7 separate regions of the Homo sapiens genome follow, and all the other regions are linked to region 1. Evidence: promoter capture Hi-C in 16 types of primary human blood cells and fetal thymus (Javierre and others, 2016). All regions are on one chromosome and are shown on one strand. Each heading gives the region's core, a stretch centred on a gene start or on the middle of the fragment in contact. The rest is flanking DNA. Distances are from core to core; before and after follow the strand shown.

What was found. The method cuts DNA at HindIII sites, captures the fragments that hold promoters and counts their contacts. A CHiCAGO score of 5 or more calls a contact.
Region 2: a fragment that was not itself captured here is called in contact with the fragment with the promoter of TMPO in region 1 in 2 of 17 cell types (M0 macrophages and monocytes); the score reaches 7.0 in M0 macrophages.
Region 3: a fragment that was not itself captured here is called in contact with the fragment with the promoter of TMPO in region 1 in 2 of 17 cell types (naive CD8 T cells and total CD4 T cells); the score reaches 7.6 in naive CD8 T cells.
Region 4: a fragment that was not itself captured here is called in contact with the fragment with the promoter of TMPO in region 1 in 6 of 17 cell types (activated CD4 T cells, total CD4 T cells, naive CD8 T cells and 3 more); the score reaches 11.5 in activated CD4 T cells.
Region 5: a fragment that was not itself captured here is called in contact with the fragment with the promoter of TMPO in region 1 in 2 of 17 cell types (non-activated CD4 T cells and total CD4 T cells); the score reaches 10.3 in non-activated CD4 T cells.
Region 6: a fragment that was not itself captured here is called in contact with the fragment with the promoter of TMPO in region 1 in 4 of 17 cell types (total CD4 T cells, naive CD8 T cells, activated CD4 T cells and 1 more); the score reaches 8.4 in total CD4 T cells.
Region 7: a contact is called between a fragment that was not itself captured here and the fragment with the promoter of TMPO in region 1, in 6 of 17 cell types (fetal thymus, naive CD8 T cells, activated CD4 T cells and 3 more). The highest score is 11.4, in fetal thymus.

What each region holds. Positions count from the first base shown.
Region 1 is chr12:98,514,132-98,517,431 of GRCh38, forward strand. It overlaps TMPO (thymopoietin), which reads left to right and starts at 1,459. Exons shown (of 9, transcript NM_001032283.3): 1 at 1,459-2,015. The coding sequence starts at 1,737. It overlaps TMPO-AS1 (TMPO antisense RNA 1), which reads right to left and starts at 2,095. Exons shown (of 2, transcript NR_027157.1): 1 at 1,860-2,095; 2 at 1-1,766. RefSeq lists enhancers at 1,079-1,158, 1,419-1,608 and a silencer at 1,949-2,218. The HindIII fragment of the contact is 4,246 bases long and covers 1-3,300 here.
Region 2 is chr12:95,953,201-95,956,500 of GRCh38, forward strand. It overlaps AMDHD1 (amidohydrolase domain containing 1), which reads left to right. Exons shown (of 9, transcript NM_152435.3): 3 at 1,711-1,775. Among named protein-coding and RNA genes, the nearest start is that of AMDHD1, 12 kb to the left of the region's middle. RefSeq lists an enhancer at 3,150-3,300. The HindIII fragment of the contact is 442 bases long and covers 1,411-1,852 here.
Region 3 is chr12:96,023,968-96,027,267 of GRCh38, forward strand. LTA4H (leukotriene A4 hydrolase) reads right to left here. Exons shown (of 19, transcript NM_000895.3): 4 at 512-580. Among named protein-coding and RNA genes, the nearest start is that of LTA4H, 10 kb to the right of the region's middle. The HindIII fragment of the contact is 888 bases long and covers 1,163-2,050 here.
Region 4 is chr12:96,050,392-96,053,691 of GRCh38, forward strand. LOC124902990 (a long non-coding RNA gene) reads left to right here and starts at 2,257. Exons shown (of 2, transcript XR_007063413.1): 1 at 2,257-2,355; 2 at 2,953-3,162. The HindIII fragment of the contact is 8,479 bases long and covers 1-3,300 here.
Region 5 is chr12:96,112,456-96,115,755 of GRCh38, forward strand. No RefSeq gene overlaps it. Among named protein-coding and RNA genes, the nearest start is that of LINC02452, 58 kb to the right of the region's middle. The HindIII fragment of the contact is 6,765 bases long and covers 1-3,300 here.
Region 6 is chr12:96,186,745-96,190,044 of GRCh38, forward strand. No RefSeq gene overlaps it. Among named protein-coding and RNA genes, the nearest start is that of ELK3, 6.0 kb to the right of the region's middle. The HindIII fragment of the contact is 2,406 bases long and covers 527-2,932 here.
Region 7 is chr12:96,213,083-96,216,382 of GRCh38, forward strand. All of the region lies in intron 1 of ELK3 (ETS transcription factor ELK3), which reads left to right. Among named protein-coding and RNA genes, the nearest start is that of ELK3, 20 kb to the left of the region's middle. The HindIII fragment of the contact is 561 bases long and covers 1,512-2,072 here.

The DNA.
Region 1 (3,300 bases), core at 209-2,708:
TTCCCCTTCTGAAGATAAAAACATTTGCCTATGTGTCCAGGGAAGCTGTGAGGACAAAAAACCAAGCAACTTTTACAAGGGATCATAAAAACCTACCTAACAACTTGCTAATTAAAACCTGATTTTTAATTTGCATTATTGAGCTTAATACCATTGCTTAAATGTATGTGAATACTGAGATTTTTATAAAGGAATTAGTTACCTCTAGGAAAATAATTATCACTAAAAGAAATAATATCGCAATTTGAATAAAAGTAAGTCGCTTAAATCATAGGAAACATTTTTAGTGAAGGCGTTTGTTTTAAATGTATTCTAACCTAGCAATGTAGAAAGCAGGCAAACATTTAAAAAAAATTTAACCAGTTTCTAAAACATAGTTTGGAGCTCAGATTCTGGGGAAATGATTAACACACCCTACATCCAAGGTCTCCTTTCCTTTCTAGAAAGAAAGCATCTTTAAACATACATATTCATCAGAAATACAAATATTTGTCATCAGTGATACTAATTTCCAGGCAAACATTTTAATTGCAGTCAATGTATTAGATTCTACCAGGTTTTAATTTGGATCGGTAATACGGGTTTGATTAGGGTTCTAGGCCTAATTATAGGTCACTAGTCTTCCTTTAGGATTATGCACCATCTGTTATTTTAAATTGACCATTGAGGGGGTTCCCAAGGGTTCTCCTTCGTTTTGTTATCAAACGTTAGGTTTAGGATTCTTGCGGGTGGTGGGATCCAAAGCCAGAGACGGTTTCAACAAAAATGCAAGCGCGAATTTGTCTTGCGTCTGAACGCACTGTTCAAATTAAACAATTTAGACATGCCCCAACTATGACACTAAGAAGTGAATGGTATAGTACACTTTTGTCACAAATTCAAGGGTAATTTAAGTGCCCGATTGTAGAGGTCTGGCTTCCCCTGGGTTTCTGGAACAAAAGAAGCGTTCGCGAGGAGAGGGGTAACTCCCCGCCCTCCCCCTCCCAAAGTAAATCAAATCAAGGAATATGAGTGCCTGCAGACAAGCCTCGCTTCTTTTCTTCCCCTTCAGGGCTAGCGTTTGGGGAAGGCAAGGCTGCGGCTACTCTTGGAGCTTCAGTGTCCCGGGAGGAAGAAAGGCCCAGCCAAGGGTCCTCACACTGGCGTGGAATTCGGCGCGTTCGTAGGCGATCGACCCCAGAGACGAAAGCTGCTTCTCAAGCTGGGGGAGGGAGAGGAAACGGCGCACAAAAGCAGTACGACCTGTCCCTTATCGGCGTCTAAGGGGAAGGGTGGAGAAAACGAAAACAGAAGCGGGCCGGGAGCCTCGGCTCCCGCCCCAGCGCCTTTTAAACTGCGTTTCTACCTCCTCTCGCTCAGCGCGGCGGCTAATGGAACCCGCGCGAGCCGTCTCGCCAATCACCGCCGCGCTTCCTCCCGTCGCCCGCCAATGGCGGCGCGCGTTCTTGGGGCGTGGGCGAAGCAGGCTGCTCGCCTCCTGCCTGTAGTGTGTGGGCTGGGGTTGGTGCGAGCTTCCAGCTTGGCCGCAGTTGGTTCGTAGTTCGGCTCTGGGGTCTTTTGTGTCCGGGTCTGGCTTGGCTTTGTGTCCGCGAGTTTTTGTTCCGCTCCGCAGCGCTCTTCCCGGGCAGGAGCCGTGAGGCTCGGAGGCGGCAGCGCGGTCCCCGGCCAGGAGCAAGCGCGCCGGCGTGAGCGGCGGCGGCAAAGGCTGTGGGGAGGGGGCTTCGCAGATCCCCGAGATGCCGGAGTTCCTGGAAGACCCCTCGGTCCTGACAAAAGACAAGTTGAAGAGTGAGTTGGTCGCCAACAATGTGACGCTGCCGGCCGGGGAGCAGCGCAAAGACGTGTACGTCCAGCTCTACCTGCAGCACCTCACGGCTCGCAACCGGCCGCCGCTCCCCGCCGGCACCAACAGCAAGGGGCCCCCGGACTTCTCCAGTGACGAAGAGCGCGAGCCCACCCCGGTCCTCGGCTCTGGGGCCGCCGCCGCGGGCCGGAGCCGAGCAGCCGTCGGCAGGGTAAGGACGCGGGGCCGGGGCTACAAAGGCGGGCGTTTGGCGGTTGCCGCGCGCGCTCGCCGCCGTTTGCAGCCCCTCCCTCCCGGGCGCCCCCTCGGGCCTCCCAGGTGCGGGGCTGTCCCTGCGCCCCCTCGCGTCGCCCCTTCCCCGCGGGGCTGCAGGCGCCGGAGCGGAGAGGCCAGAAGTTGGGGCCGCGGGGTTCGCGTTCTTTGACGTGTGGGTCTGGGAGGTGTGGAGTTGCGTTGGCGGCGGTTGTTTTGCACGCAGTCGACGCCGCTTCCCTGGACCACCAGCCGCCTGCAGCGGGCGTTTAGACGGGGACTTCCGTGCCCTTTCGAAAGCTCTGGAGGGGTGGCCCCAAAATGCTATAGGTTAAGTTCGAGCGTTTTCCCGCTTTATTAACTGAAATGACTCGCAGCAGAGTCTCAGAGCGCTCCCTGGAGGGCAACTGATGACACTCTAATTTCTAACCAAAATTTGAAATGAGGAAATTCCCGCCTTTTTATACTTTTGCGTGTGGAGGGCTTTTTGAACCGTTTATGTTTTCTAGTTTGTTTTAATTTTTCCCAGCAACAGGCCATCTTTTGGCGGAACAGGTTCATGCCGAATTAAAAGGAGCATTTTAAACTATATTTTTAGGCGCCTATTATAATTTTTTAGTTTTTATTTATTTATTTTTTTAGATGGAGTGTCGCACTTGTTGCCCAGGCTGGAGTGCAATGGCGAGATCTCGGCTCACCGCAACCTCCACCTCCCGGGTTCAAGCGATTCTCCTGCCTCAGCCTCCCGAGTAGCTGGGATTACAGGCATGCGCCGCCACGCCCGGCTGATTTGTGTATTTTTTAGTAGAGACGGGGTTTCTCCAAGTTGGTCAGGCTGGTCTCGAACTCCTGACCTCAGGTGGTCCTCCCGCCTCGGCCTCACAAAGTGCTGGGATAACAGGCGTGAGCCACCGGGCCCGGCCCTGCAAACAAATATTTGAAAATTGCAGTTTGGATTGCGTTTTCCCCACATATTGGTAAATTTTGCTTGAGGAAACGAAAGACTTAGGATTCAGGAAAAATTTATTTCATGACATTCTGGTGCATCAGTATTGCAATTTGGAATGTCTGATCCTGGTTAAATCTCAAATCGGCTCCAGCAAAGCATGTTTTGTTTCAGAATAGTTTGCTTTTTTACCTGTGGATTTTAATATGCTTTTTGTGGGTTTGCTTATGCCTGCCGAGTTACCAGGCTTCAAATCGTAATAGGATGAAGCTAAAACTAGTAATTGGTGTAACATAAA
Region 2 (3,300 bases), core at 382-2,881, 2.6 Mb before region 1:
AAAAACAGTCAAAAGAACTTTATTAATCCATGGCATAGGAGAGGCTAACAAGGCAGCTGCTGTCTCTAATACTAGAAATACTCTAAATTTGTATAGGATGTGAAACAAAGGATCCAGCTCTGGGCAGAAAAAGAAAAACAAAAATCCTAGAGCTTTCACTGCAGTTCACTTGTATCTTTGATGATTGACAACAGAATCAGTTTATTAACCATCATCTCCTACATTATGTTGTATGGCTTCATATAATCATCCAAAACAAGTTTCACAAACTTTCAGTTCTACACAAACAAAAGGGCTTCATATTTATATTTTTTTATATAAAATTTTTATACTTTTAAATATTTATTGTACACATCTGACAGAGCTTCTAACTGATGGGTTTTCATTTGTTTGTTTATTTTGAGACAGTCTCACTGTGTCACCAAGGCTGGAGGGCAGTGGTGTGATCTTGGCTCACTGCAACCTCCACCTCCCAGGTTCAAGCAATTCTTTTGCCTCAGTCTCCTAAGTAGCTGGATTACAGGCATGCACCATCATGCCTGGCTAATTTTTGTATTTTTAGTAGCAACAGGGTTTCACCATGTTGGTCAGGCTGGTCTCAAACTCCTGATCTCAAGCGATCTGCTGATCTCGGTCTCCCAAAGTGCTGGTATTATAGGCATGAGCCACCACGCCCGGCCTTCCTTATGATTCTTGAGAGTCAGGAGACAAAGTCAGGGTGAAATGTTATGAAAAAGAGGAATATAGCAGAAAGCAATCTGAGTAGGCGCTTTTGATTTTAGTCCAATCAGAGCCAATAATGAGTCATTTAATCCATAAGGTATCTAAAACATTTTGGAAAGACACACTTTACTGAATTGTACCTGGATAAACAAAAGTTTCAAGTGATTGCTTTACAGTTTCTCCTTAATTAAAATACATTTCTTTCTTGAAAATAGATTAATCTTTCTGATTTCACATTTTCCCTTCTCAGAGTTGCAGGGGGAGGGGATTGTAGTATTGTTTTCATATCCAGATTATTCCTTGTGATAAGGTTCATGGTTTTGCCAACTAGGGGGCTTGACAACCTAATTTCAAAGCTTATTTGGGCCAGGAGTAGTGGCTGATGCTTGTAATCCCAGCACTTTGGGAGGCTGAGTCAGGCAGATCATTGGAGGCTGAGGCAGGCAGATCGTTTAAGCCCAGGAGTTCAAGACCAACCTGGGCAACATGGCAAATTTTAGCTTGTGTGGTGGTGCATGACTATAGTCCCAGCTACTAGGGAGGCTGAGGTGGGAGGATTGCTTGAGCCTGGGAGGTCAAGGCTGTAGGGAGCTGTGAGTGTGCCACTGCACTCCAGCCTGGGCGACAGAGTGAGAACCTTTCTCAAAAATAAATAAAATAAAATAAAATAAAATAAAATAAAATAAAAGCTTATTTGGTGAGCATGGACTTACTGAGCAAAAGGAGCTGTATTTCTGTAAGGGATATTTTCATCATGTTGCATCACCTCCTTCATTAGAGCTTTCTAGACCAACCATACAACAGGGCAGTCTTCTTTTCTCTCTATCAAGGGAACCAGACAGACAAATTCTTCCTTTCATGCTCCTCCAAAATGGATGGCCACCATCACACTTTCCCCAGAGCAGCAGGGTATAGTGCTGCTGTTTGCCTGCTGTCTAAGTGCTCTCTATTTCTTAATTGTAAGATAACTTGATTTATTGATTATAGGTTTGGTGGATGCACACACACATCCAGTATGGGCTGGTGAAAGAGTTCACGAATTTGCAATGAAGGTAACTGCAACAAATCATGGCAAATCAAAATAAAGCACAAATATGAAGTCTTTTGCTGAAGAGTTAGTAGGCTATCAAGCTTTGCAACATATGTCAACATATTTTTTAATGGATATTTTTACTTGCTTGGGTATGGGAAACAAATGACAACAAAACTTATTTATAACTGCCCCAAATCATTGTATTATACACAGGGCTATTCCTGCCCACTAATGTCTCCCTCTCTTTCCTTCCCCACATTCCCATTCCAAATCGCTATCTCTAGTAGCTTTTGAAAGGGCTCCAAGGAATAGTTTGAAAATTGCCATTCATTGGAGTAAAGCTTGGAAAAATATGTTACTAATCACAAAAATAAAATACCTTAATTTTTCTGTTATAAACTGAGACTTATTAAGAATCACAAAATGTAAGCTGTGTTAGTCCTATATTAGCTGTAACCAACTCCTAAATCCCTGGTTGGAGAGATTTTCACATGTGTTTTTTAAAAAAGAAAAAAAAAGATGTGCCTCCTAGCAGCTAAACTGGCTTATTTCAGGAAAAGAAAAAAAAAATTCTTTTCTTCAGCTATCATGTACCTGCTTCAACAAACTAGAGCTGTTTTTAAGATTGTTTTATTAAATCACAGAATTTCAGAGCCAAAAGCAGTCCAATCCTCTCATTGTATAGACGGAGAAAGAGATTTACAGTCCAATCCTCTCATTATGTAGATGGAGAAAGCTGGGTCTAGAGAAGGGAAGAGTGTTGACTAGCGTCACCAGCTGGAGGATGGCAGAACCCAGATGAAAACTCCGGCCAGGAGACCCCAGGCCTGCATCCTTTCTCTGCACCACACTCCTTGCTGCCCAGAGTAACTGGAGCCCAGTGGGACCCTAGAAAGAGCCTCTTTGAGTGACAAAGATCAAGCTCCAAACTCGGATGGCCAAATATTGAGACAAGGAAACTTCCTGGGGCCGCTTTAGTGGAGATCTGAATAATTGCAATGGGGTTCCCTGCAACTCCTGAATTGCCTAAGCTTTGTTTTCTCAAACAAGCTGAGGGATGGAGGGAGGGCTGATACTTAGCAAGTACACATTGCGGGTTGATTGACTTGTTAAAATATTGCAATACTCCTGTGCCAGTTTTGTTTTGTTTTGTTTGTTTGTTTGTTTTTTGAGATAGAGTCTCGCTCTGTCACCCAGGCTGGAGTGCAGTGGTGCGATCTCAGCTCCCTGCAACCTCCGCCTCCCGGGTTCAAGTGATTCTCCTGTCTCAGCCTCCAGAGTAGCTGGGGCTACAGGCGTGTGCCACCATGCCCCCGCTAATTTTTGTATTTTTAGTAGAGATGGGGTTTCACCATATTGGTCAGGCTGTTCTTGAACTCCTGACCTCGTGATCTGCCCACCTAGGCCTCCCAAAGTATTGGGATTACAGGCGTGAGCCACCGCGCCAGGCCTCACTGCCCTAAGATCCCAACAGGCCACCCACCACATCTCCCATCTCTACCACTCCAGTCTCTTCCCAAGACCCCTTCGGAGCTCCCCACAAT
Region 3 (3,300 bases), core at 357-2,856, 2.5 Mb before region 1:
CGCCCAGGCTGGAGTGCAGTGGTGCCATCTCAGCTCACTCCAAGCTCTGCCTCCTGGGTTCATGCCATTCTCCTGCCTCAGCCTGCCGAGTAGCTGGGACTACAGGTGCCCGCCACCATGCCCGGCTAATTTTTTGTGTTTTTTTTAGTACAGATGGGGTTTCACCATGTTAGCCAGGATGGTCTCGATCTCCTGACCTCGTGATCCACCCATCTCGGCCTCCCAAAGTGCTGGGATTACAGGTGTGAGCCACCACACCTAGCCCTGAATTCCTTTTTAAAAGTCAGATTGGTTTCCATTTCCTTTTTTTCACAGTTAAAATGTTTAAAACTGCCTTTAAAGTAGAGATTCAGAATGAGTGCCACAGCCTCTTTGTTTACATATTTCAGGTAGAATTTCATTAAGAAAAATAATTCTAGCTCTAGGAATTCAATTATCATCTCTGCTTATCATTTATACCATATTTACTGATATGCATCATTTAATTGAGTTAATAATTCGTAATATTTACCTCTGCAGTATAGGTTAATTTCACAGAAGGAGTGTCCTGACAAGGAAGGATTGCTCTGCAGTGGATGGCCTGAAAAAGGGAGAAACAAGAAGAAATAGCTATTTATCTTTCGCATAAGTCATTAAGAAATCATTAAAAATTGCAGCATTGTTCTTAGACATTAAAATAAAAACAGTCCTCATTTCTTGGGATTTTTTTTTTTTTTTTGAGACGGAGTTTCACTCTTGTTGCCCAGGCTGGAGTTCAATGGCATGATCTTGGCTCACTGCAACCTCCACCTCCCGGGTTCAAGCAATTCTCCTGCCTCAACCTCCCGAGTAGCTGGGATTACAGGCATGTACCACCACGCCCAGCTAATTTTGTATTTTGAGTAGAGATGGGGTTTCTCCATGTTGATCAGGCTGGTCTCGAACTCCCAACTTCAGGTGATCTGCCCACCTCGGCCTCCCAAAGTGCAGGGATTACAGGCGTGAGCCACCACGCCTGGCCTTTTGGGATCTTTTAAAGTCCAAAAATAGATTCTTGGACTTTTAAAAATCAGATTTTCCATTTTAATCTATGGTTAACCCTCACATTTCAGTTGAAGCATGGAGAAACTCTTAAGCAGTGTTTCCTACTCTATGGTCTGGGTGACAGTAGTGCCCAGTGAGAAGCTTTTAGAAACCTGAGAAAAAAGGGCTCTGTAGCAAAACAGACCTGAGAAGTATGGCATACTGCACCACTGTCTTGCAGAGCCACTAGAATATTAGCCGCCTGAAGGCTCTGAACAGACCTACAATAAAGAAACCTGTTTGATTTCTTACATTTATGTTAACACAAAACCCATTTCTCTCTGGTTTAACACCTAATGGGATGTCAGTATTCTAATGAACACAGCCTGAGAAATGTTGCTGTAATCCTGACACTTCAATCTTGCAGCAAACCTTGTAAGTAAAACAAAGAAGCAAAGAAGGGAGAAAGAACAGTCTCTTTCAATACCATCTAGACATATTCATTCATATCATATGCAAAGTGTTTCTGTACTGCCACACCAATCGTTATTAACATTGGTTCCATCCAGTATGACCACAGGCCAGGTGCCGTGGCTCACTCCTGCAATCCCAGCACTTTGGGAGGCTCAGATGAGAGGATTGCTTGAGCTCTAGAATTTGAGACCAGCCTGGGCAACATAGTGAGACCTTACCTCTACACAAAAAAAATTAGCTGGGCATGGTGGTGCACACCTGTAGTCCCAGCTACTCAGGAGGCTGAGGTAAAAGGATCGCTTGAGCCCAGGAGTTCTAGGCTGCAGTGACCCAAGTTCGCACCATTGCACTACAGCCTGGGCAACACAGCAAGACCCTGTCTCCAAAAAAAAAAAAAAAAGAGCACCTACAATCTTATACCCGGTCTGTTTACAAATAAGTCTGTCTACTGCTGGTGAACAATGAAATGAAAACCCAGCCTCATTGAGACAGTCTACTAAACTCAAAGGAATTCTGATATTAACACCCTTCTCTGAAGCTATTACAAATCCTAAACATACTTCATTCCACCACAAGCTTTCTTAAAACCCCCAAACTCCAGGTCTTTTCATTTCAGTTCTAGAAAATTCTCCAAAGATATAGGCTCCCAAATGACCTCTAGATGGATTAAGTAGGACTAGCAGAGCCACCTGGTTCTCTCTCCCAAAATAGATTTCCAAGACCATGCCTCTATAGTTCCTTAATGGTTTCTAGTTAGGTGACATGGCAACACCAAAGGGGTTTTTAAATGTATTTCATTGGATAAGGCCAAACCCAGGCAAATATGCATACAGAACAACCGTAAGCAAATTCATCAAACAAAATCATGTCTACATGATTCCTATCACCTCAATCATTTATTAATTTAGCTGAAATCTGTTTCCCATATTCCCACCATTGCTGCCAATAAGAAATGGAATAATATATTCAAAATTAACATTTTCATGACTCATAAATCTTGCATTTCTTGCCAACTTTGGTTAATAGACATTCTATTAAGACATACTGCCTGAAAATCAGATATTTATGAGATACAGATTGTGCAATTTGTACACTCTTGCGTAGAACATTTCATCTCTTCTAGATTATTAAACTGAGGGTTTCTTAGATTAAAAAGATGTTTCAAGTGGCCATAGAAAGTAAACAGGTCTGATTCATATGCTAATTCCTTTTTTAAATGGACTTGTATTGAAATTTGAACCTAACACACAGGAATATTGGGAGGGATGAAACATGTAAAGAATCTAGCACAATGCCTGGAAATAGAGCAAACGTTTAATGAAGTCAGTTCCCTTAATTGTAAATTATTTGATTACTATGAAAAGTAGGTATTTTTTCTTTCAGAAGACAGTTTGAAATGTATTATCCTTGTGACAGGTTATCTCTAATTGTATGGCTCTTTACCCTTAGTTTTAAAACAGAAAACAAAAGTAGTTTAAGTCATGCAATTTTAAAGGTACAGTTAATATATTGATATAATACATACTTTTGTAAATGTGTAAGAAAAATATGGAAAAGCTACATTCCAAACTCAATGGTGGTTACCTCTGGGCAATGGTGTCTGGAAAAGGTTTGGAAATTAAATCTTTCACTTTCCATTTCTTTACTATTAGCATTTTTCATAACCAGTACATATTATTTATTAATTTTTCCTTTCATTTTATGACTATTTACTGAGTACCTACTCTCTGCTAAGTTCTAAGTCAGGCCTAGAGAGTCCAATCTAGGTGGACATATTTCCAAACTGAAAGAAGCTTCTTATTTAAAGTAAGGCATGAGTGTATT
Region 4 (3,300 bases), core at 231-2,730, 2.5 Mb before region 1:
CAACGTGGATGCAGCTAGAGGCCATTATCTTGAGTGAATTAACACAGAAACAAAATTAAATACTGCATGTTTTCACTTATAAGTGGGAGGGAGATAAACACAGGGTACACACAGGCATAAAGATAGAAACAATAGACACAGGGGACTCCAAAAGGGGAAAGGGAAGGAGGGAGGAAAGAGAGTTGAAAAACTACCTATTGGGTACTATGTTCATGTTCACCATTTGGGTGACAGTTCAGCAGAAGCCCAAACCTCAGCATTAGGCAATATATTCATGTAACAAACCTGTACATGTACCTCCTGAATCTCAAATTAAAATAATACTACTACTAATAAAGACCAAAGTATTTCAGAGGGAGGAAGAATTTGCATGGTGAAATTTGCGTAGTGAAATTGGCATCCATATGGTGCATAAGGGATATCTTTGGATCTTCTGAATTACATTATATACATTTTTTAAATTAAAATAAATTCTAAAAATGTGGAAGCAGTAATGATGCAGGGTGATGGGTGAAGGCTAAAAGAGTTTTGAGATACATGCTACAAAAAGCCAAGGTTGCTGTGAAAAAATTGCTAAAGATGATTCTGGTGAGGACTCAAAAAGAGCTTCTGTCTTCCTTCTTTGAGGATGCGTAAACAATCGTGAACAGAATGCTAGCAGAAATATAGGTGGCAAAGGCTATTCTGTGAGGCCTCAGATGGAAATGAGGAACATGTTATTGGACAATGGAGAAAATCCTTTTTATAAAGTGGCAAATAACTTACTGAATTGTTTATGTTCTAGTGTTTTGTGGACGGTAGAACTTTCAAACAATGAAATTGGATAGTTGGCTGAGGCCATTTCTAAGCAGAGTGCTGAAAGAGCAGCTTGGTTCCTCTTGACCACTGATAGTAAAATTTAAGAAGAGAGAAATGAATTGAAGAAGAAATTGTTAATCAAAAAATAACCAGCACTTAAAGATTTGGAAAATTCTTAGCCTGTCCTTACTGCAAAAAAAATGAGAAACCATGTTCAGAAGAGTTAGGCCAAGCATGGTGGCTCCTGCCTATAATCCCAGCACTTTGGGATGCCAAAGCAGGCAGATTACTTGAGCTCAGGAGTTCAAGACCAGCCTGGGCAACATGGTGAGACCCCATCTCTATTTTAAAAAATAAAAAAAGAAAAGAAAAGAAGAGATTATTAAGAGTGTGGCTGGTCACCCATTTGATAAGGAGAGTAGTGTGAGTATCAACCATGGACCTAATCAGCCATCTCAACAGAAGCCAGAAATAGAGTTGGGATTATTCCAGGAGAAATAATGCTTTAGTCCCCTGCCAGTTGGGACTAAAAGGAAAAGAGAAAACAAGATGGAATGAAGTAAGGCTGTGAATATGCAATCCCCTTCAGGAAAAGAGAGGAAGGATCCCAAAGGCAATTCAGACATCATCAGGGCTGCTACTCCCACCACAGGCCCAGAGTGGAAAGGCCCCTGGGAACAAGGCTACCTCCATCTTGGTTTCAAAGAGTGGGACTGCTACTCAGCACTCATGTGGGTGTGGCCCTCACAGACAGCCATGTGGGCAGTGCTACACTGAGCTGAAGAAGCAGGGACACCCCACTGAAAGATGGGGGTGATACCTTCCAGTGGTTCTGGAAGGGAGGACCACCACCCCAGTGGGCCTACAGGGCAGAGCATTCTTTGAGCCAAAGAGGATTGTATTTCAGTTTTAAAGCCTAATGAAGTTTGACTTCTAGATTTTGGATTTCTTGGTACTTGTCACCCCTTTCTACCTTTCAATTTCTCCCTTTTGGAATAGGAATATCTATCCTGAGCCTGTTCCATCATTGTATTTCGGAAGCACATAACTTGTCTGGTTTCACAGATTCACAGTTGGAAAGGAATTTTGCCTTAGGGTGAATTTTGAGTCTCACTCATATTGGATTTACATGATATTTAGATGAGACTTTAAACTTTAGAGTTGATGCTGGAATGAGTTGACTTTTGAGACTGTTAAGATGGAATGAATGTATTTTAAATGCAAGGAGGATGTGAATTTTGAGAGGGACAAAGGGCAGAATATTATGAACTAAACGTTTAAGTCTCCCCCAAATTCATATATTGAAGCCCTAACCCCCAATGTGAGGGTATTACGAGGTGAGGTCTTTGGGAGGTAATTAGGTTTGGATGAGGTCATGAGGGTAGATCCCTTGTGATGGAATCAGTGCCCTTATAAGAAGAAGAGAGACTAGAGCTTCCTCTCTCTGCCATGTGAAGATACAGCAAGAAGGTGGCCATCTGCAAGCCAGGAAAAGGGGCCATGGCAAACACTGAATCTGCTCACAGTCTGAACTTGAACTTGTCAGCCTCCAGAATTGTAAGAAATGAATATCTGTTGTTTAAGCCACCCAGTCTATAATATTTTGTTTTGGCAGCCTTAGCTGACCCAGGCACTCACTTATGCTTACATTCTAACTTCTAAATTAAGGCTGCAATATATGAAACATGATCATAGAACTTGTAATTATCTGAGGATCCAGAAAAATCACGAGCCTGCACAAGGTTTATCCAGAGGCAGAGGAAATACCAGTTCACTGAGAAAAATTAAAGGGACAGTAGAAGAATAAAATATAGTTGTTTATAATTGTATGTTACAAATTATGTTTGTGAAGCCAGTTACATAAATAATCTTAAAGATTTAATAGTTTCTGCCTGCATCCAAATAATTGCCATGTGCCTATGTCCATACGCCTATGTCCATACTACTTTGGAAACCTCTAATGAATGAATGTGTAAAGTTTGGATGGGTATTTGAGAGGGAAAATACTTCTTATGAGGTTGACAGTTATAAGCAAAGTTAGGAACAAAAAGCAAATTCAGAAAAAAACTCATCTTTTGTTATGGTCTAAATGTTTGTGTCACCCCCAAAATTTATATGTTGAAATCCTAACCCCCAAGTTGATGGTATTGGCAGATGGGGCCTTTGGTGAATGGAATTTGTGCTCTTACAAAAGGGACTTCAGAGAGCTTGTATGCCCTTCCACCATGTGAAGACACAGGAAGAAGGCACCATCTATGAACCAGAAAATGGGCCCTCACCAGACATCACATCTGCTGGCATCTTTATCAAGGACTTCTCAGCCTCCAAAATTGTGAGAAATAAATTTCTGTTGTGCATAAGCTACCCAGTCTATGGTATTTTGTTATAGCAGCCTGAATGGACTAAGACACACTTATTGAACCCCCACGTGTTTTTCTGAAGAATGAATGCCTCACATTTTACACAAGATGTCTGTGTGCACTGGGGCCGTCTAGTCTACCC
Region 5 (3,300 bases), core at 747-3,246, 2.4 Mb before region 1:
GAAAATGTCAGTAGTGCTGACACTGAGAAACCTTGGTCTAGACTGAGACCTCTGACCAAGAAAAGATGGTGAAGTGAACTGAGTATCTGCACAGATAGGATTGGAATGGGGTGGGATGATGGACCTGAGGAAGAGGTCTGCTGGAAGCAACTGGAAAGCATTTGGTATCAGAAGGAAAAACCAGAACCTTTATGAGCAAATGATTTGCCAATTTTTAATTAGCTCCCTTGTGCAGATATTGATATTTCAGTATATTGCCCCAGTGATACTTATCACCAGAAGTCATGGCTTCTCCAGTTTCTAATGAAACCTGATGTGTTCATTGGTTCTGAAAGCCTACAGCTGTGTTTGGCTTTGCAGCCCTAACTGATAATAGCGTTTGAAGTCCCTTGTCGTTCTGACTTTCAGGAAATACAAGTAATATTGTTGGAAGGCAGCAGGCACCAGACATCCATTTGTGTGGGGGAAAATGTATCACAAAAGCGTTTCCTGGTCCAGAAAGTAAACCATTGAACTTGATCCGACTGGTAAGTGAGTGATCAATTATTAACTAAGTTTGGAGAAGTGGGAATTCCCTCTAATCCCTGTGGTTTGCTGGATTAAATAATGTTGCACACAGATCTAATCGTTTTGGCTCTACAGTGAGCTCTGCCAGCCAGGCTCCATCCTCAACCCTGTCCTCTCCTCTGTCCAAACTCACTCCGTACTGTTCTCATCCAGTCCTAAGGCTTCAGATAGTCTTCATATACCAACGGCCCTTCAGGCTAATGGATAATCCCATTACATTTCCGTGATCCTATTACTCTCCCACTTTCCCAAAGGACGATCTCATGCTTTCCCTTTCCTCAAACCATCAATACATCCTTCCCCAATGTGCTGCACTAAGAACCTCACTTCCTATTTTCTGGAGAAAACAGGAGCAATCAGAAAAAACTTGCACCTGCTTCCAGCACATCTAGCAGTTCCTGTGTCCTTCTATGCTACTTTCCCTCCAGTGACCATGGTCCAGCGGTTCCTGTGCCTTTCCAAGGTCAGTTCCTTCACTTGGAGAGTAGATTCCAACTCTTCTACCTACCCAGGAATGTCACTTGCCTCTTTTCTCCTGAATTCATCCTTTCCCACCCTATCAACTTATTTACAATAAATTCCGTTAAAAAAAGTCTTCCTTGGGGCCAGGCGCAGTGGCTCACGCCTGTAATCCCAGCACTTTGGGAGGAAGGCTGGTGGATCACTCAAGATCAGGAGTTCGAAACCAGCCTGGCTAACATAGTGAAACCCCATCTCTACTAGAAATACAAAAAATTAGCCTGGTGTGGTGGCAGGTGCCTGTAATCCCAGCTACTTGGGAGGCTGAGGCAGGAGAATTGCTGGAACCTGGAAGGTGGAGGTTGTAGTGAGCTGAGTTCGCACCACTGCACTCCAGTCTGGGTGACAGAGCAAGACTCTGTCTCAAAACAAACAAACAAAAAACTTACTTGACCCCACATCTCCCTTCAGCTATTGTCCCACTTTCCTGCTCCTCTAATGGCAAAAAGACTTGCCTCCTTATCCTCTCCTGTTCTTCTCTCATGTATCCTTTTTATTTACACCTTCATTTCATCAAACCATCAACACCAGCTCTTGTCAAGGTCACTATGACCTTCACTTGGCCAAATGCAGTGGTTAATTTTCAGCTCTTATCAGACATTCAGCAGCACCAACTCCATTGCTCACTCCCCTCAACACTCCTTCCCAGGGAGGACAGGGAATTTCCGTAATAGCTAAATGTCTTCAACCCAGGGAAGATTTAGAATTAAATATAAAGGTGATGGAGTATGTCAAATCTGTAGGGTTAAGTCTTTTAAAAATATACATAAATTTTGAAAATAATCCATATGTTTGATATTTTAAGCACTTAAATGTTTAAATGAATTTGGCATATTGAACAACTTGATATACTGAGGGTTCTTTTTTTGTTTTTTTGTTTTTTGAGACGGAGTCTCACTCTGTCACCCAGGCTGGAATGCAGTGGCATGATCTTGGCTCACTGCAAGCTCCACCTCCTGGGTTCATGCCATTCTCCCGCCTCAGCCTCCCAAGTAGCTGGGACTACAGGCGCCTGCCACCATGCCTGGCTAATTTTTTGTGTGTGTGTTTTTAGTAGAGACGGGGTTTCACTGTGTTAGCCAGGATGGTCTCGATCTCCTGACCTTGTGATCCACCCGCCTCGGCCTCCCAAAGTGCTGGGATTACAGGCATGAGCCACTGTGCCCGGTCAAGAAATTTTTGTAAGAGAATTACAAAAGAATCTGTAGGCCAAGTGGGGTGGCTCATGCCTATAAACCCAACACTTTGGGAGGCCAAGCTGGGAGGATTGCCTGAGGCCAGGAGTTGGAGACCAGCCTGAGCAACATAGCAAGACCCTGTCTCTATAAAAAATATTAAACAGCAGAAATACACACACAAAAATAAAAATAAAAAGTAAGTTTTGGAATATATAAAATAATTTGAACCTTTTATGCTATATTTATAAGTATAATATTAGTTTTACGAAAATGACTAAGGAGTCAGGGTTTTTTCTTTTTAGTTAATTTGTAGTCAGCTTCTTAATGTAAAAGGTAAGCACGCAAACCTGGAATCTGGGGCACAGTCTGTTTTATTGGAGGATTTGCTTAAGGGTTGGTTCCACTCAGACTTAGTTAATTAAACAACTTCAAGGGTTTTTAACTGTGTTTATAAATTTAATATATTTTATTTGGTTTTCAGTGACAGCTAGTTCAAAAAGTAGCCCACATATTATTAGCTATATGACTGTGAGAATTATTCTGTATACCTCAGTTTCCCTGTATATGCAACGGAGATGATAATAATATAAGATATTCGCTAGAAGTGATACGAGAATTAAAGGAGTTAATGGTGTAAATTTTTTTTTTTTTTTTTTTTTTTTTTTTTTTTAAGATGGAGTCTAGCTCTGTCACCCAGGCTGCAGTGGTGCGATCTTGGCTCACTGCAACCTCCACCTCCCAGGTTCAAGCAATTCTCCTGCCTCAGCCTCCTGAGTTGCTGGGATTACAGGCCATGCCACCACACCTAGCTAATTTTCGTATTTTTAGTAGAGACGGGGTTTTACCATGTTGGCCAGGCTGGTCCCGAACTCCTGACCTCAGGTAATCTGCCTGCCTCGGCCTCCCAGGGTGCTGGGATTATAGGTGTGAGCCACCACACCCAGCCAGTTTAGGACAGTGTCTGCCCATGGTAGGGGCTGTAACTGTTAGGTATCACTGAAACACAAATCAAATAAATTTACAAATGCAGTTTAAA
Region 6 (3,300 bases), core at 480-2,979, 2.3 Mb before region 1:
GAAAGGCCCGACCACCTCTTCCCCATCTTTGCCATCAATGCACAGCGTGACATCCTGCCCTTCACAGTATTTCCTGAGCTTCCTGTAACTGTCTGATGCTGCCCGATTTAAAAAAAAAAAAGACTGCAGTTTCCTACAAAGCCTTGTCCAACACCTTCTAGGATCAAAACAAAAGATAAAATACTTGATTTTCTTGATCTACACGTTTAAAATCCAAAACAGTTGTTTGCACAGGAACTCTGGGCATCATTGAAAGGGAAAGGGCCAAAGACCATTTGTACCTTTCTGAGCATGTCAGATTTATAGCATGTACGAAGTGATTTTGACCGGCAGCTGGTTGGTACACATTCTCATTTGTATTCATCCTGAAAACTATGGCAATGTCTCACCGTTTCAGGAGTTGTGACACTTTACCACTACATATTTACCCTCCCTTCCTTTCTAAAGGTACGATGTGGATTCAGGGTGGGTGTGAGGGTACAGGGTGTTACTGAATTTCGATCATTTTTTAAATTTAAAACTCTGAAGCTTGGAATCAGTTTTAATTCCCCCCGAATGTCATTAATTCTTCTTCTTCATGATTGTTCACATATCTCAATTAGTATGGTATAACATCATTTACAAAACTGTATTTTACATCATTTCTTCTATTATGGACTGATTGATTCAACAAAAATTTTTAGCACTTTCTTGGCAGGTGTTAGGGATATAGAGACGGGAATGCATAGTGGAGCGAGTCATAGAAATAAGTCTAAGCTGTAAAGTTCAAACACGGTTCTGTGGGGGATGTAGGAGAAATGGGCCATACATTTCATCTGGTGAATCTTGGAAGACTTCTTGGAGGAGCTGAGGTTTAAGCCATGTCTAAAGAATGAGTAAGACATTTACAAGGGTTTCATGAAGAGAGAGGGTGTCTGGATGGAAATATGGAGACATAGAGTTTCCTGGGCTCAACCTCAGACTCCAAGAGGTGAGGTCCTGGAGCACATGGTTCTGATGTGTAACCAGGGTTGGGAACCAGCAGACAAAGGCTCAAGTCTGTTCAGAGACCAGATTGCAGAGAAAATCTTGAAATGCCATCTCAGTGTCTGGGACAGTGAGCACCAGCTATTCTCCACCTCTTTGGAAGACCGAATAAGGGGAATTAAATGAAGCATGAGCGTTTGGTTTTCTTTGAAGCTGAGGTTCCTGGACGTGAAGTGCATTAAAGACACGTAAGATTTTTACGTGATGTGGCAAGCAAGGGCCTTGTCTGGAATGAGAAAGAAAATGCAGTTAAAAATCCAAACCAAAAAACAGCACAGAATCTCTTTTGCCTACACCAGCAGTTGACAAACTTTTTCTATAAAGAGCCAGAAAGTAAATATCTTCAGCTTTATGGGCCATATGGTCTCTGTCACAACTACTCAAGCATGCTGTTATAGTGCAAAAACAGTGTTAGACAATATGTAAATAAATGAATGTGGCTGTGTTCCAATAAAACTTTACTTAGGGACACTAAATTTGGATTTCACATAATTTTCACATGTTACAAAATATTATCCTTCTTTTGGCTTGTTTTCAAACATTTAAAAATGTAGATTCTTATTACTCACAATGGCCAAGAGGTAGAAGCAACCCAAATGTCCAAAACAAATGAATGGATAAATAAAATGTGGTATGCACAAACAATGGGATAGTATCTAGTTCTAAAAAGGAAGGAAGGCCAGGTGCAGTGGCTCATGCCTGTAATCCCAGCACTTAGGGAGGATGAGGTGGGAGGATTGCTTGTGTCTAAGAGTTCAAGACCAGCCTGGGCAACATAGCAAGATGCCATCTCTACAAAAAATAAAAAATTAGCCAGGTGTGGTGGTGGGCACCTGTAGTCCCATTTACTTGGGAGGTGGAGGAGGGACGATCACTTGAGCCTGGGAGGTCGAGGCTGCAGTGAGCTGTGATCATGCCACTGCAGTACTGCCTGGGTGACAGAGCAAGACCCTGTCTCAATAATAATAATAATAATCATAATAAAATAAAAAGAAAGGAAATCCTGTCGCATGATCAATACGGATGATCACTGAGGACATTATGCTAAGTGAAATAAGCCAGTCACAAAAAGATAAATATTGTACAATTCCATTTATGCAAAGTATCTAGTCAAACTCATAGAAACAAAAAGTAGAATGATGGTTGCCAAGGGCTGGGGAAGGGAAAGATGGGGGCTCGTGTTTAATGGGGATAGAGTTTCAGTTTCATAAGATGAAAAAATTCTGGAGGTGAGCTTCACAACCACATGAATCTACTTAACGCTACAGAATTAATTATACACTTAAAAATAGGACGGTAAATTTGATTTTTTTTAACCACAATTAAAAATAAAAAAGAAAAGGCAAATACTTCTTCACTCAAAAGTCATACAGAAACAGGCAGTGGGTTCTGTGGACTGACTGCAGTTTGCCAAGCTCTGCCCCATGAGTGGCCTGTGTGAGGGCAAAAAAGACGGTCCAAGTCAATATTTCTCAAATGTCCCTCTGAAATACCTCTAACAACACAAAAGGGAGACCGCAGACTCCAACAGGGGGCTGCCTACAAGTCTATACAACTCTTTTAAATACGCTTTTAAATGAACATTTAAGAATCTTAGTCCATAACACGTTATTTTAATGTAAAATTGGCATTCAGTGGAAACATCAGTAAAAACTGACACTTGTTCCAGCCCAGAGAAGGTGAGTGATTTAGTCAAGGTCCCATAGTTAGAACAAGTCAGGTATGGGACTGGATTCCCAAATTCCTGATTCCAAATGTACACATTCCACCAGAGTGGGCTGTCTTACCATCAGGCTTTGGCTGTTCATTCCCAGCCCTACCTCCTAGCCCCCCAGTATTGAAGCAGTCTTCGAAGGTAGTGATGGCAAACCCTTTTGAGCTTCTATCAGAAATTCAGCAATTCATAAGCTTCGAACATTATTTATTCCGCTTGGTTTACTGTAAATTTTAGTTTGGTTTATTGTAAAACTAATTTTCTTCTCCCGCTCTGTTTTCTCATCCATCTGTAATTTTTTTCTTTACTTTTGATAGCATCCCATTCTGTTATACGTTGTAGGATGTTGAAGTGTAGAAGTGGGAGTGTGTCAGTCCTAAGCAGAGGTTTTAAGAAGCATCACGTTTCCACTCACCCCCACTTGAGCTCCAACTCTCCTTGAGAACCACGTCTGAAGTGGTGTCTGTTCCTTTAGCCTGGTCCTAGAAATGAGAAGCCGACATGCATTCAGCCTGCAGACTGGAGCCAAGCCCAGCCAAGCCCAGCCAACCTAGACTCAC
Region 7 (3,300 bases), core at 542-3,041, 2.3 Mb before region 1:
TTTATGTGTTGTGGAAGGCTTCATATAAGGCATATACGAAGGGGGCATAGAAACCTTGTTGAAGGTTTAAAACATATATAAGCCTTTGGCGCAGTGCCATGCTTTTTCCACACACCATCTCATTTAAATTGCCTTGCTGCTTTGTGCTACAGAGAAATAGGGTGTGCTTCTGGGACAATCAGTTATTTCTTTACCCTGCAGATTGACCACCTCTTCTTCTCTAAGCCCAGAAAGAACAAACTCTATCCCAGGAATCTTAAAAAGTTTTGGACTGTTAGGGATCAAGAGGTACCCACACGAGGCAGCCTTGGATGGAAATAGGCCCTTTTCTGTCTTACTGTGGGCCCGCTCTGAAAATGTAGGATAACATAGGGCTGGGTTGTATGGTGGTTATTAGGGTGGGGTGCGGTGAATTCTGTGGGAAAAAGTCGAATGGTTGTAAGACATTTTCTCAGCCAGTGTTAACGAAGCCATCATTTACTACTCACCCATATAAAAGTCACTGACAAACCAATTGAGTTACTTCTAATTTAGCCAGAGACAGCATAGTTCCAGAAGGAAAGAGGGGTGTTCCTACACACAGTAAATTGCATATGTTGTTATTTCAGTGGTTGTCAGTGATTTCCTCTGAAAAATCTCTCTTTTTTTTTGTTTTGTTTTTGAGACAGGTTCATGCTCTGTTGCCCAGGCTGGGGTGCAGTGATGTGATCACAGCTCACTGCAGCCTCAAACTCCTGGGCTTAAGTGATCCTCCTGCCTCAGCTCCCCAAGTAGCTGGGACTACAGGTATGTGTCACCACATCCAGCTAACTTTTGTGTTTTTTGTGGGGATGGGGGTCTCGTGTTGCCCAGGCTGGTCTTGAACTCCTAGGCACAAACTGTCCTCCCTCCTCGGTCTCCCAAAGTGCTGGGATTACAGACATGTAATCCGTTCATTAAAAACCCAGTAATCCTTGCATTGTGCTAGATATTACATTGTGCTAGATATAACATGTACAGGCATGTAATCCCAGCAACCTTTCTCTTTCCCAAGATGGAAGAGTTATTTAAAAAACATTGCAGACTGGGCCAGACACGGTGGCTCACGCTTATAATCCCAGCACTTTGGGAGGCCGAGGTGGGTGGATCACCTGAGGTCAGGAGTTTGAGACCACCCTGGCGAACATGCTGAAACCCTGTCTCTACTAAAAATACAAAAATGAGCCGGAGGCAGTGGTGTGCGCCTGTAGTCCCAGCTACTCGGGAGGCTGAGGCACGAGAATCACTTGAACCTGGGAGGCGGAGCTTGCAGTGAACCGAGATCACACCACTGTGCTCCAGCCTGGGCGACAGAGCAAGACTCTGTCTCAAAAAACAAAACAAAACAAACAAACAAAAAAAAAAACAGCAAAAACCATTGCAGACTGTAAAGAGTAAGTAAATAGGTGAGCAATACCTACTTTTGTTTACCTTTTTTAAAATGAACAATTTGTAGATATTCACAGAATGCAAATACTTGTTAATAAATGAAAAGCTTGGGAGACATGAAGTTGGCCTCATGCCTTTTTTATACACAGTGATAATGATCAAAATAATTTAAATGTCCTTTGAAAATAAATTTAATAGTCTTCCAACTCACAGAAATAATAAAAAACTTCAGAACTTGTATAAGTTTTTTTTTCAAATATTATCCTTATTTACTTAATACCTTACACTTACTCTGTGCTGAGTTATTGCAGATCCCTAATAATATAAAATGTTGTCTTCCAGTTCTTTGACTGAGGTACAGGGTTCATTTTCTATAATGAAATGGCTACTACCCTTTGTCTTAGACAATGATAGTATCATGACATGGAAATGCATAGCAGATACTGGCAGAGGAGTTGAACTCAGCAGAATTTTCAGTAAGAAGTGTTCAAATCCATCTTCATTTCTCTAACCATGCAAAATTTAACAAACGAAAAAAGACATGGGTACCTCATGAGCACCTATTTTGTTTATTCCTTACCCAGAAGTTTTTCTCCTTTTCTTGGGCTCTCATTGCCTTTTTTTTTTTTTTAAGTTGCCTCGTTTCTTATTTCCCACCACATAGAAGCTTAAGAAAATCAAAGCTAATTCTGCCCCCTCAACTCCCACCTCAGTAAAAATGAAACAAGGAACATGCAAAGGGAAGTGCTAGGTTGCCATCAGTAGAAAGAAGAACAAATAAGTGGGCATTTCGACTTCTAAGAATGGAGGCAAAAACCTCATACTTTGCATAAGGGGTCTGTGCGGCCCTTGCTCACATTAAGACGTCGGGCGCCACCTTGTGGCCGACAGGAAGGAGGTCAGCTTCCAAGAAGAGGCCAGTAGCTTTTCGGTGACAGAGGCAGGAGGCAGCTGGGACACCTGAAGCTGGGATCGTGTCATGTGACCTGACAGCTCTCACGTAGGCGGAGGCGGGCACAGCGTAATGAGAATGATCAATATTTCTGTCAATAGCATCTTTCTTTTTGAGGCTCCGTCGGATTAAAGAATGAATCAAAGTTAAATAAAAACATGGGAAAGACTAAAGAGGGACATAAAACCTTTTTTTTTTTTTTTTTTTTTAAAGAGAGATGGTCTCGCTCTGTCACCCAGGCTGGAGTGCAGTGGTGCAATCACAGCTCACTGCAGCCTCTACTTCCCAGGCTTAGGCGATCCTCTCACCCCAGCCTCTTGAGTAGCTGGGTGGACAGGCGCGGACCACCAGACACAGCTAATTTTTGTATTTTTTGTAGAGATGGGGTCTTACTCTTGCCCAGGCTGGTCTCGAATTCCTGGGCTCAAGCGATCCACCCACCTCGGCCTCCCAAAGTGCCAGGATTACAGGCGTGAGCTATCACGCCTAGCCTCAAAACTGTTTTCATAACTGCATTCTTTAAGTGCAAAAAGCTGAAAACAGAATAAGGGCAGAAAATAATCACTCAGAGTCTGCAAAAATGTCCCTCCCCTCTGTGCCAGAGGTCAAGCGTTTTACTCTCGGCCTCTCTACTCTGTGTCTTTTGCCCTGACCAGCCCGTGAATGCCCTCCTGTAGGGCCCCATCTGCAGCGGCTATGAGCGGTGTTGTCATCATTGTCCCTTGGCTTGTCATTTAGAACATCTTTCTTTCTTCGCTATCTGACCCAACAGCTCTCATGTACTTGACTCTCCTTCCTGCTCCAGAGAAACCACATAGATGGGAGCCGAATGTACCCCAGGGAAGGAGAGAGCCCCAGGGACCCTCTTTGCTGAGGTCACACAGCTTGGAGGCCTCAGGGTCAGCATTTAAACCAGTGTTTGTTAAGCTGGAGTCGGAGAA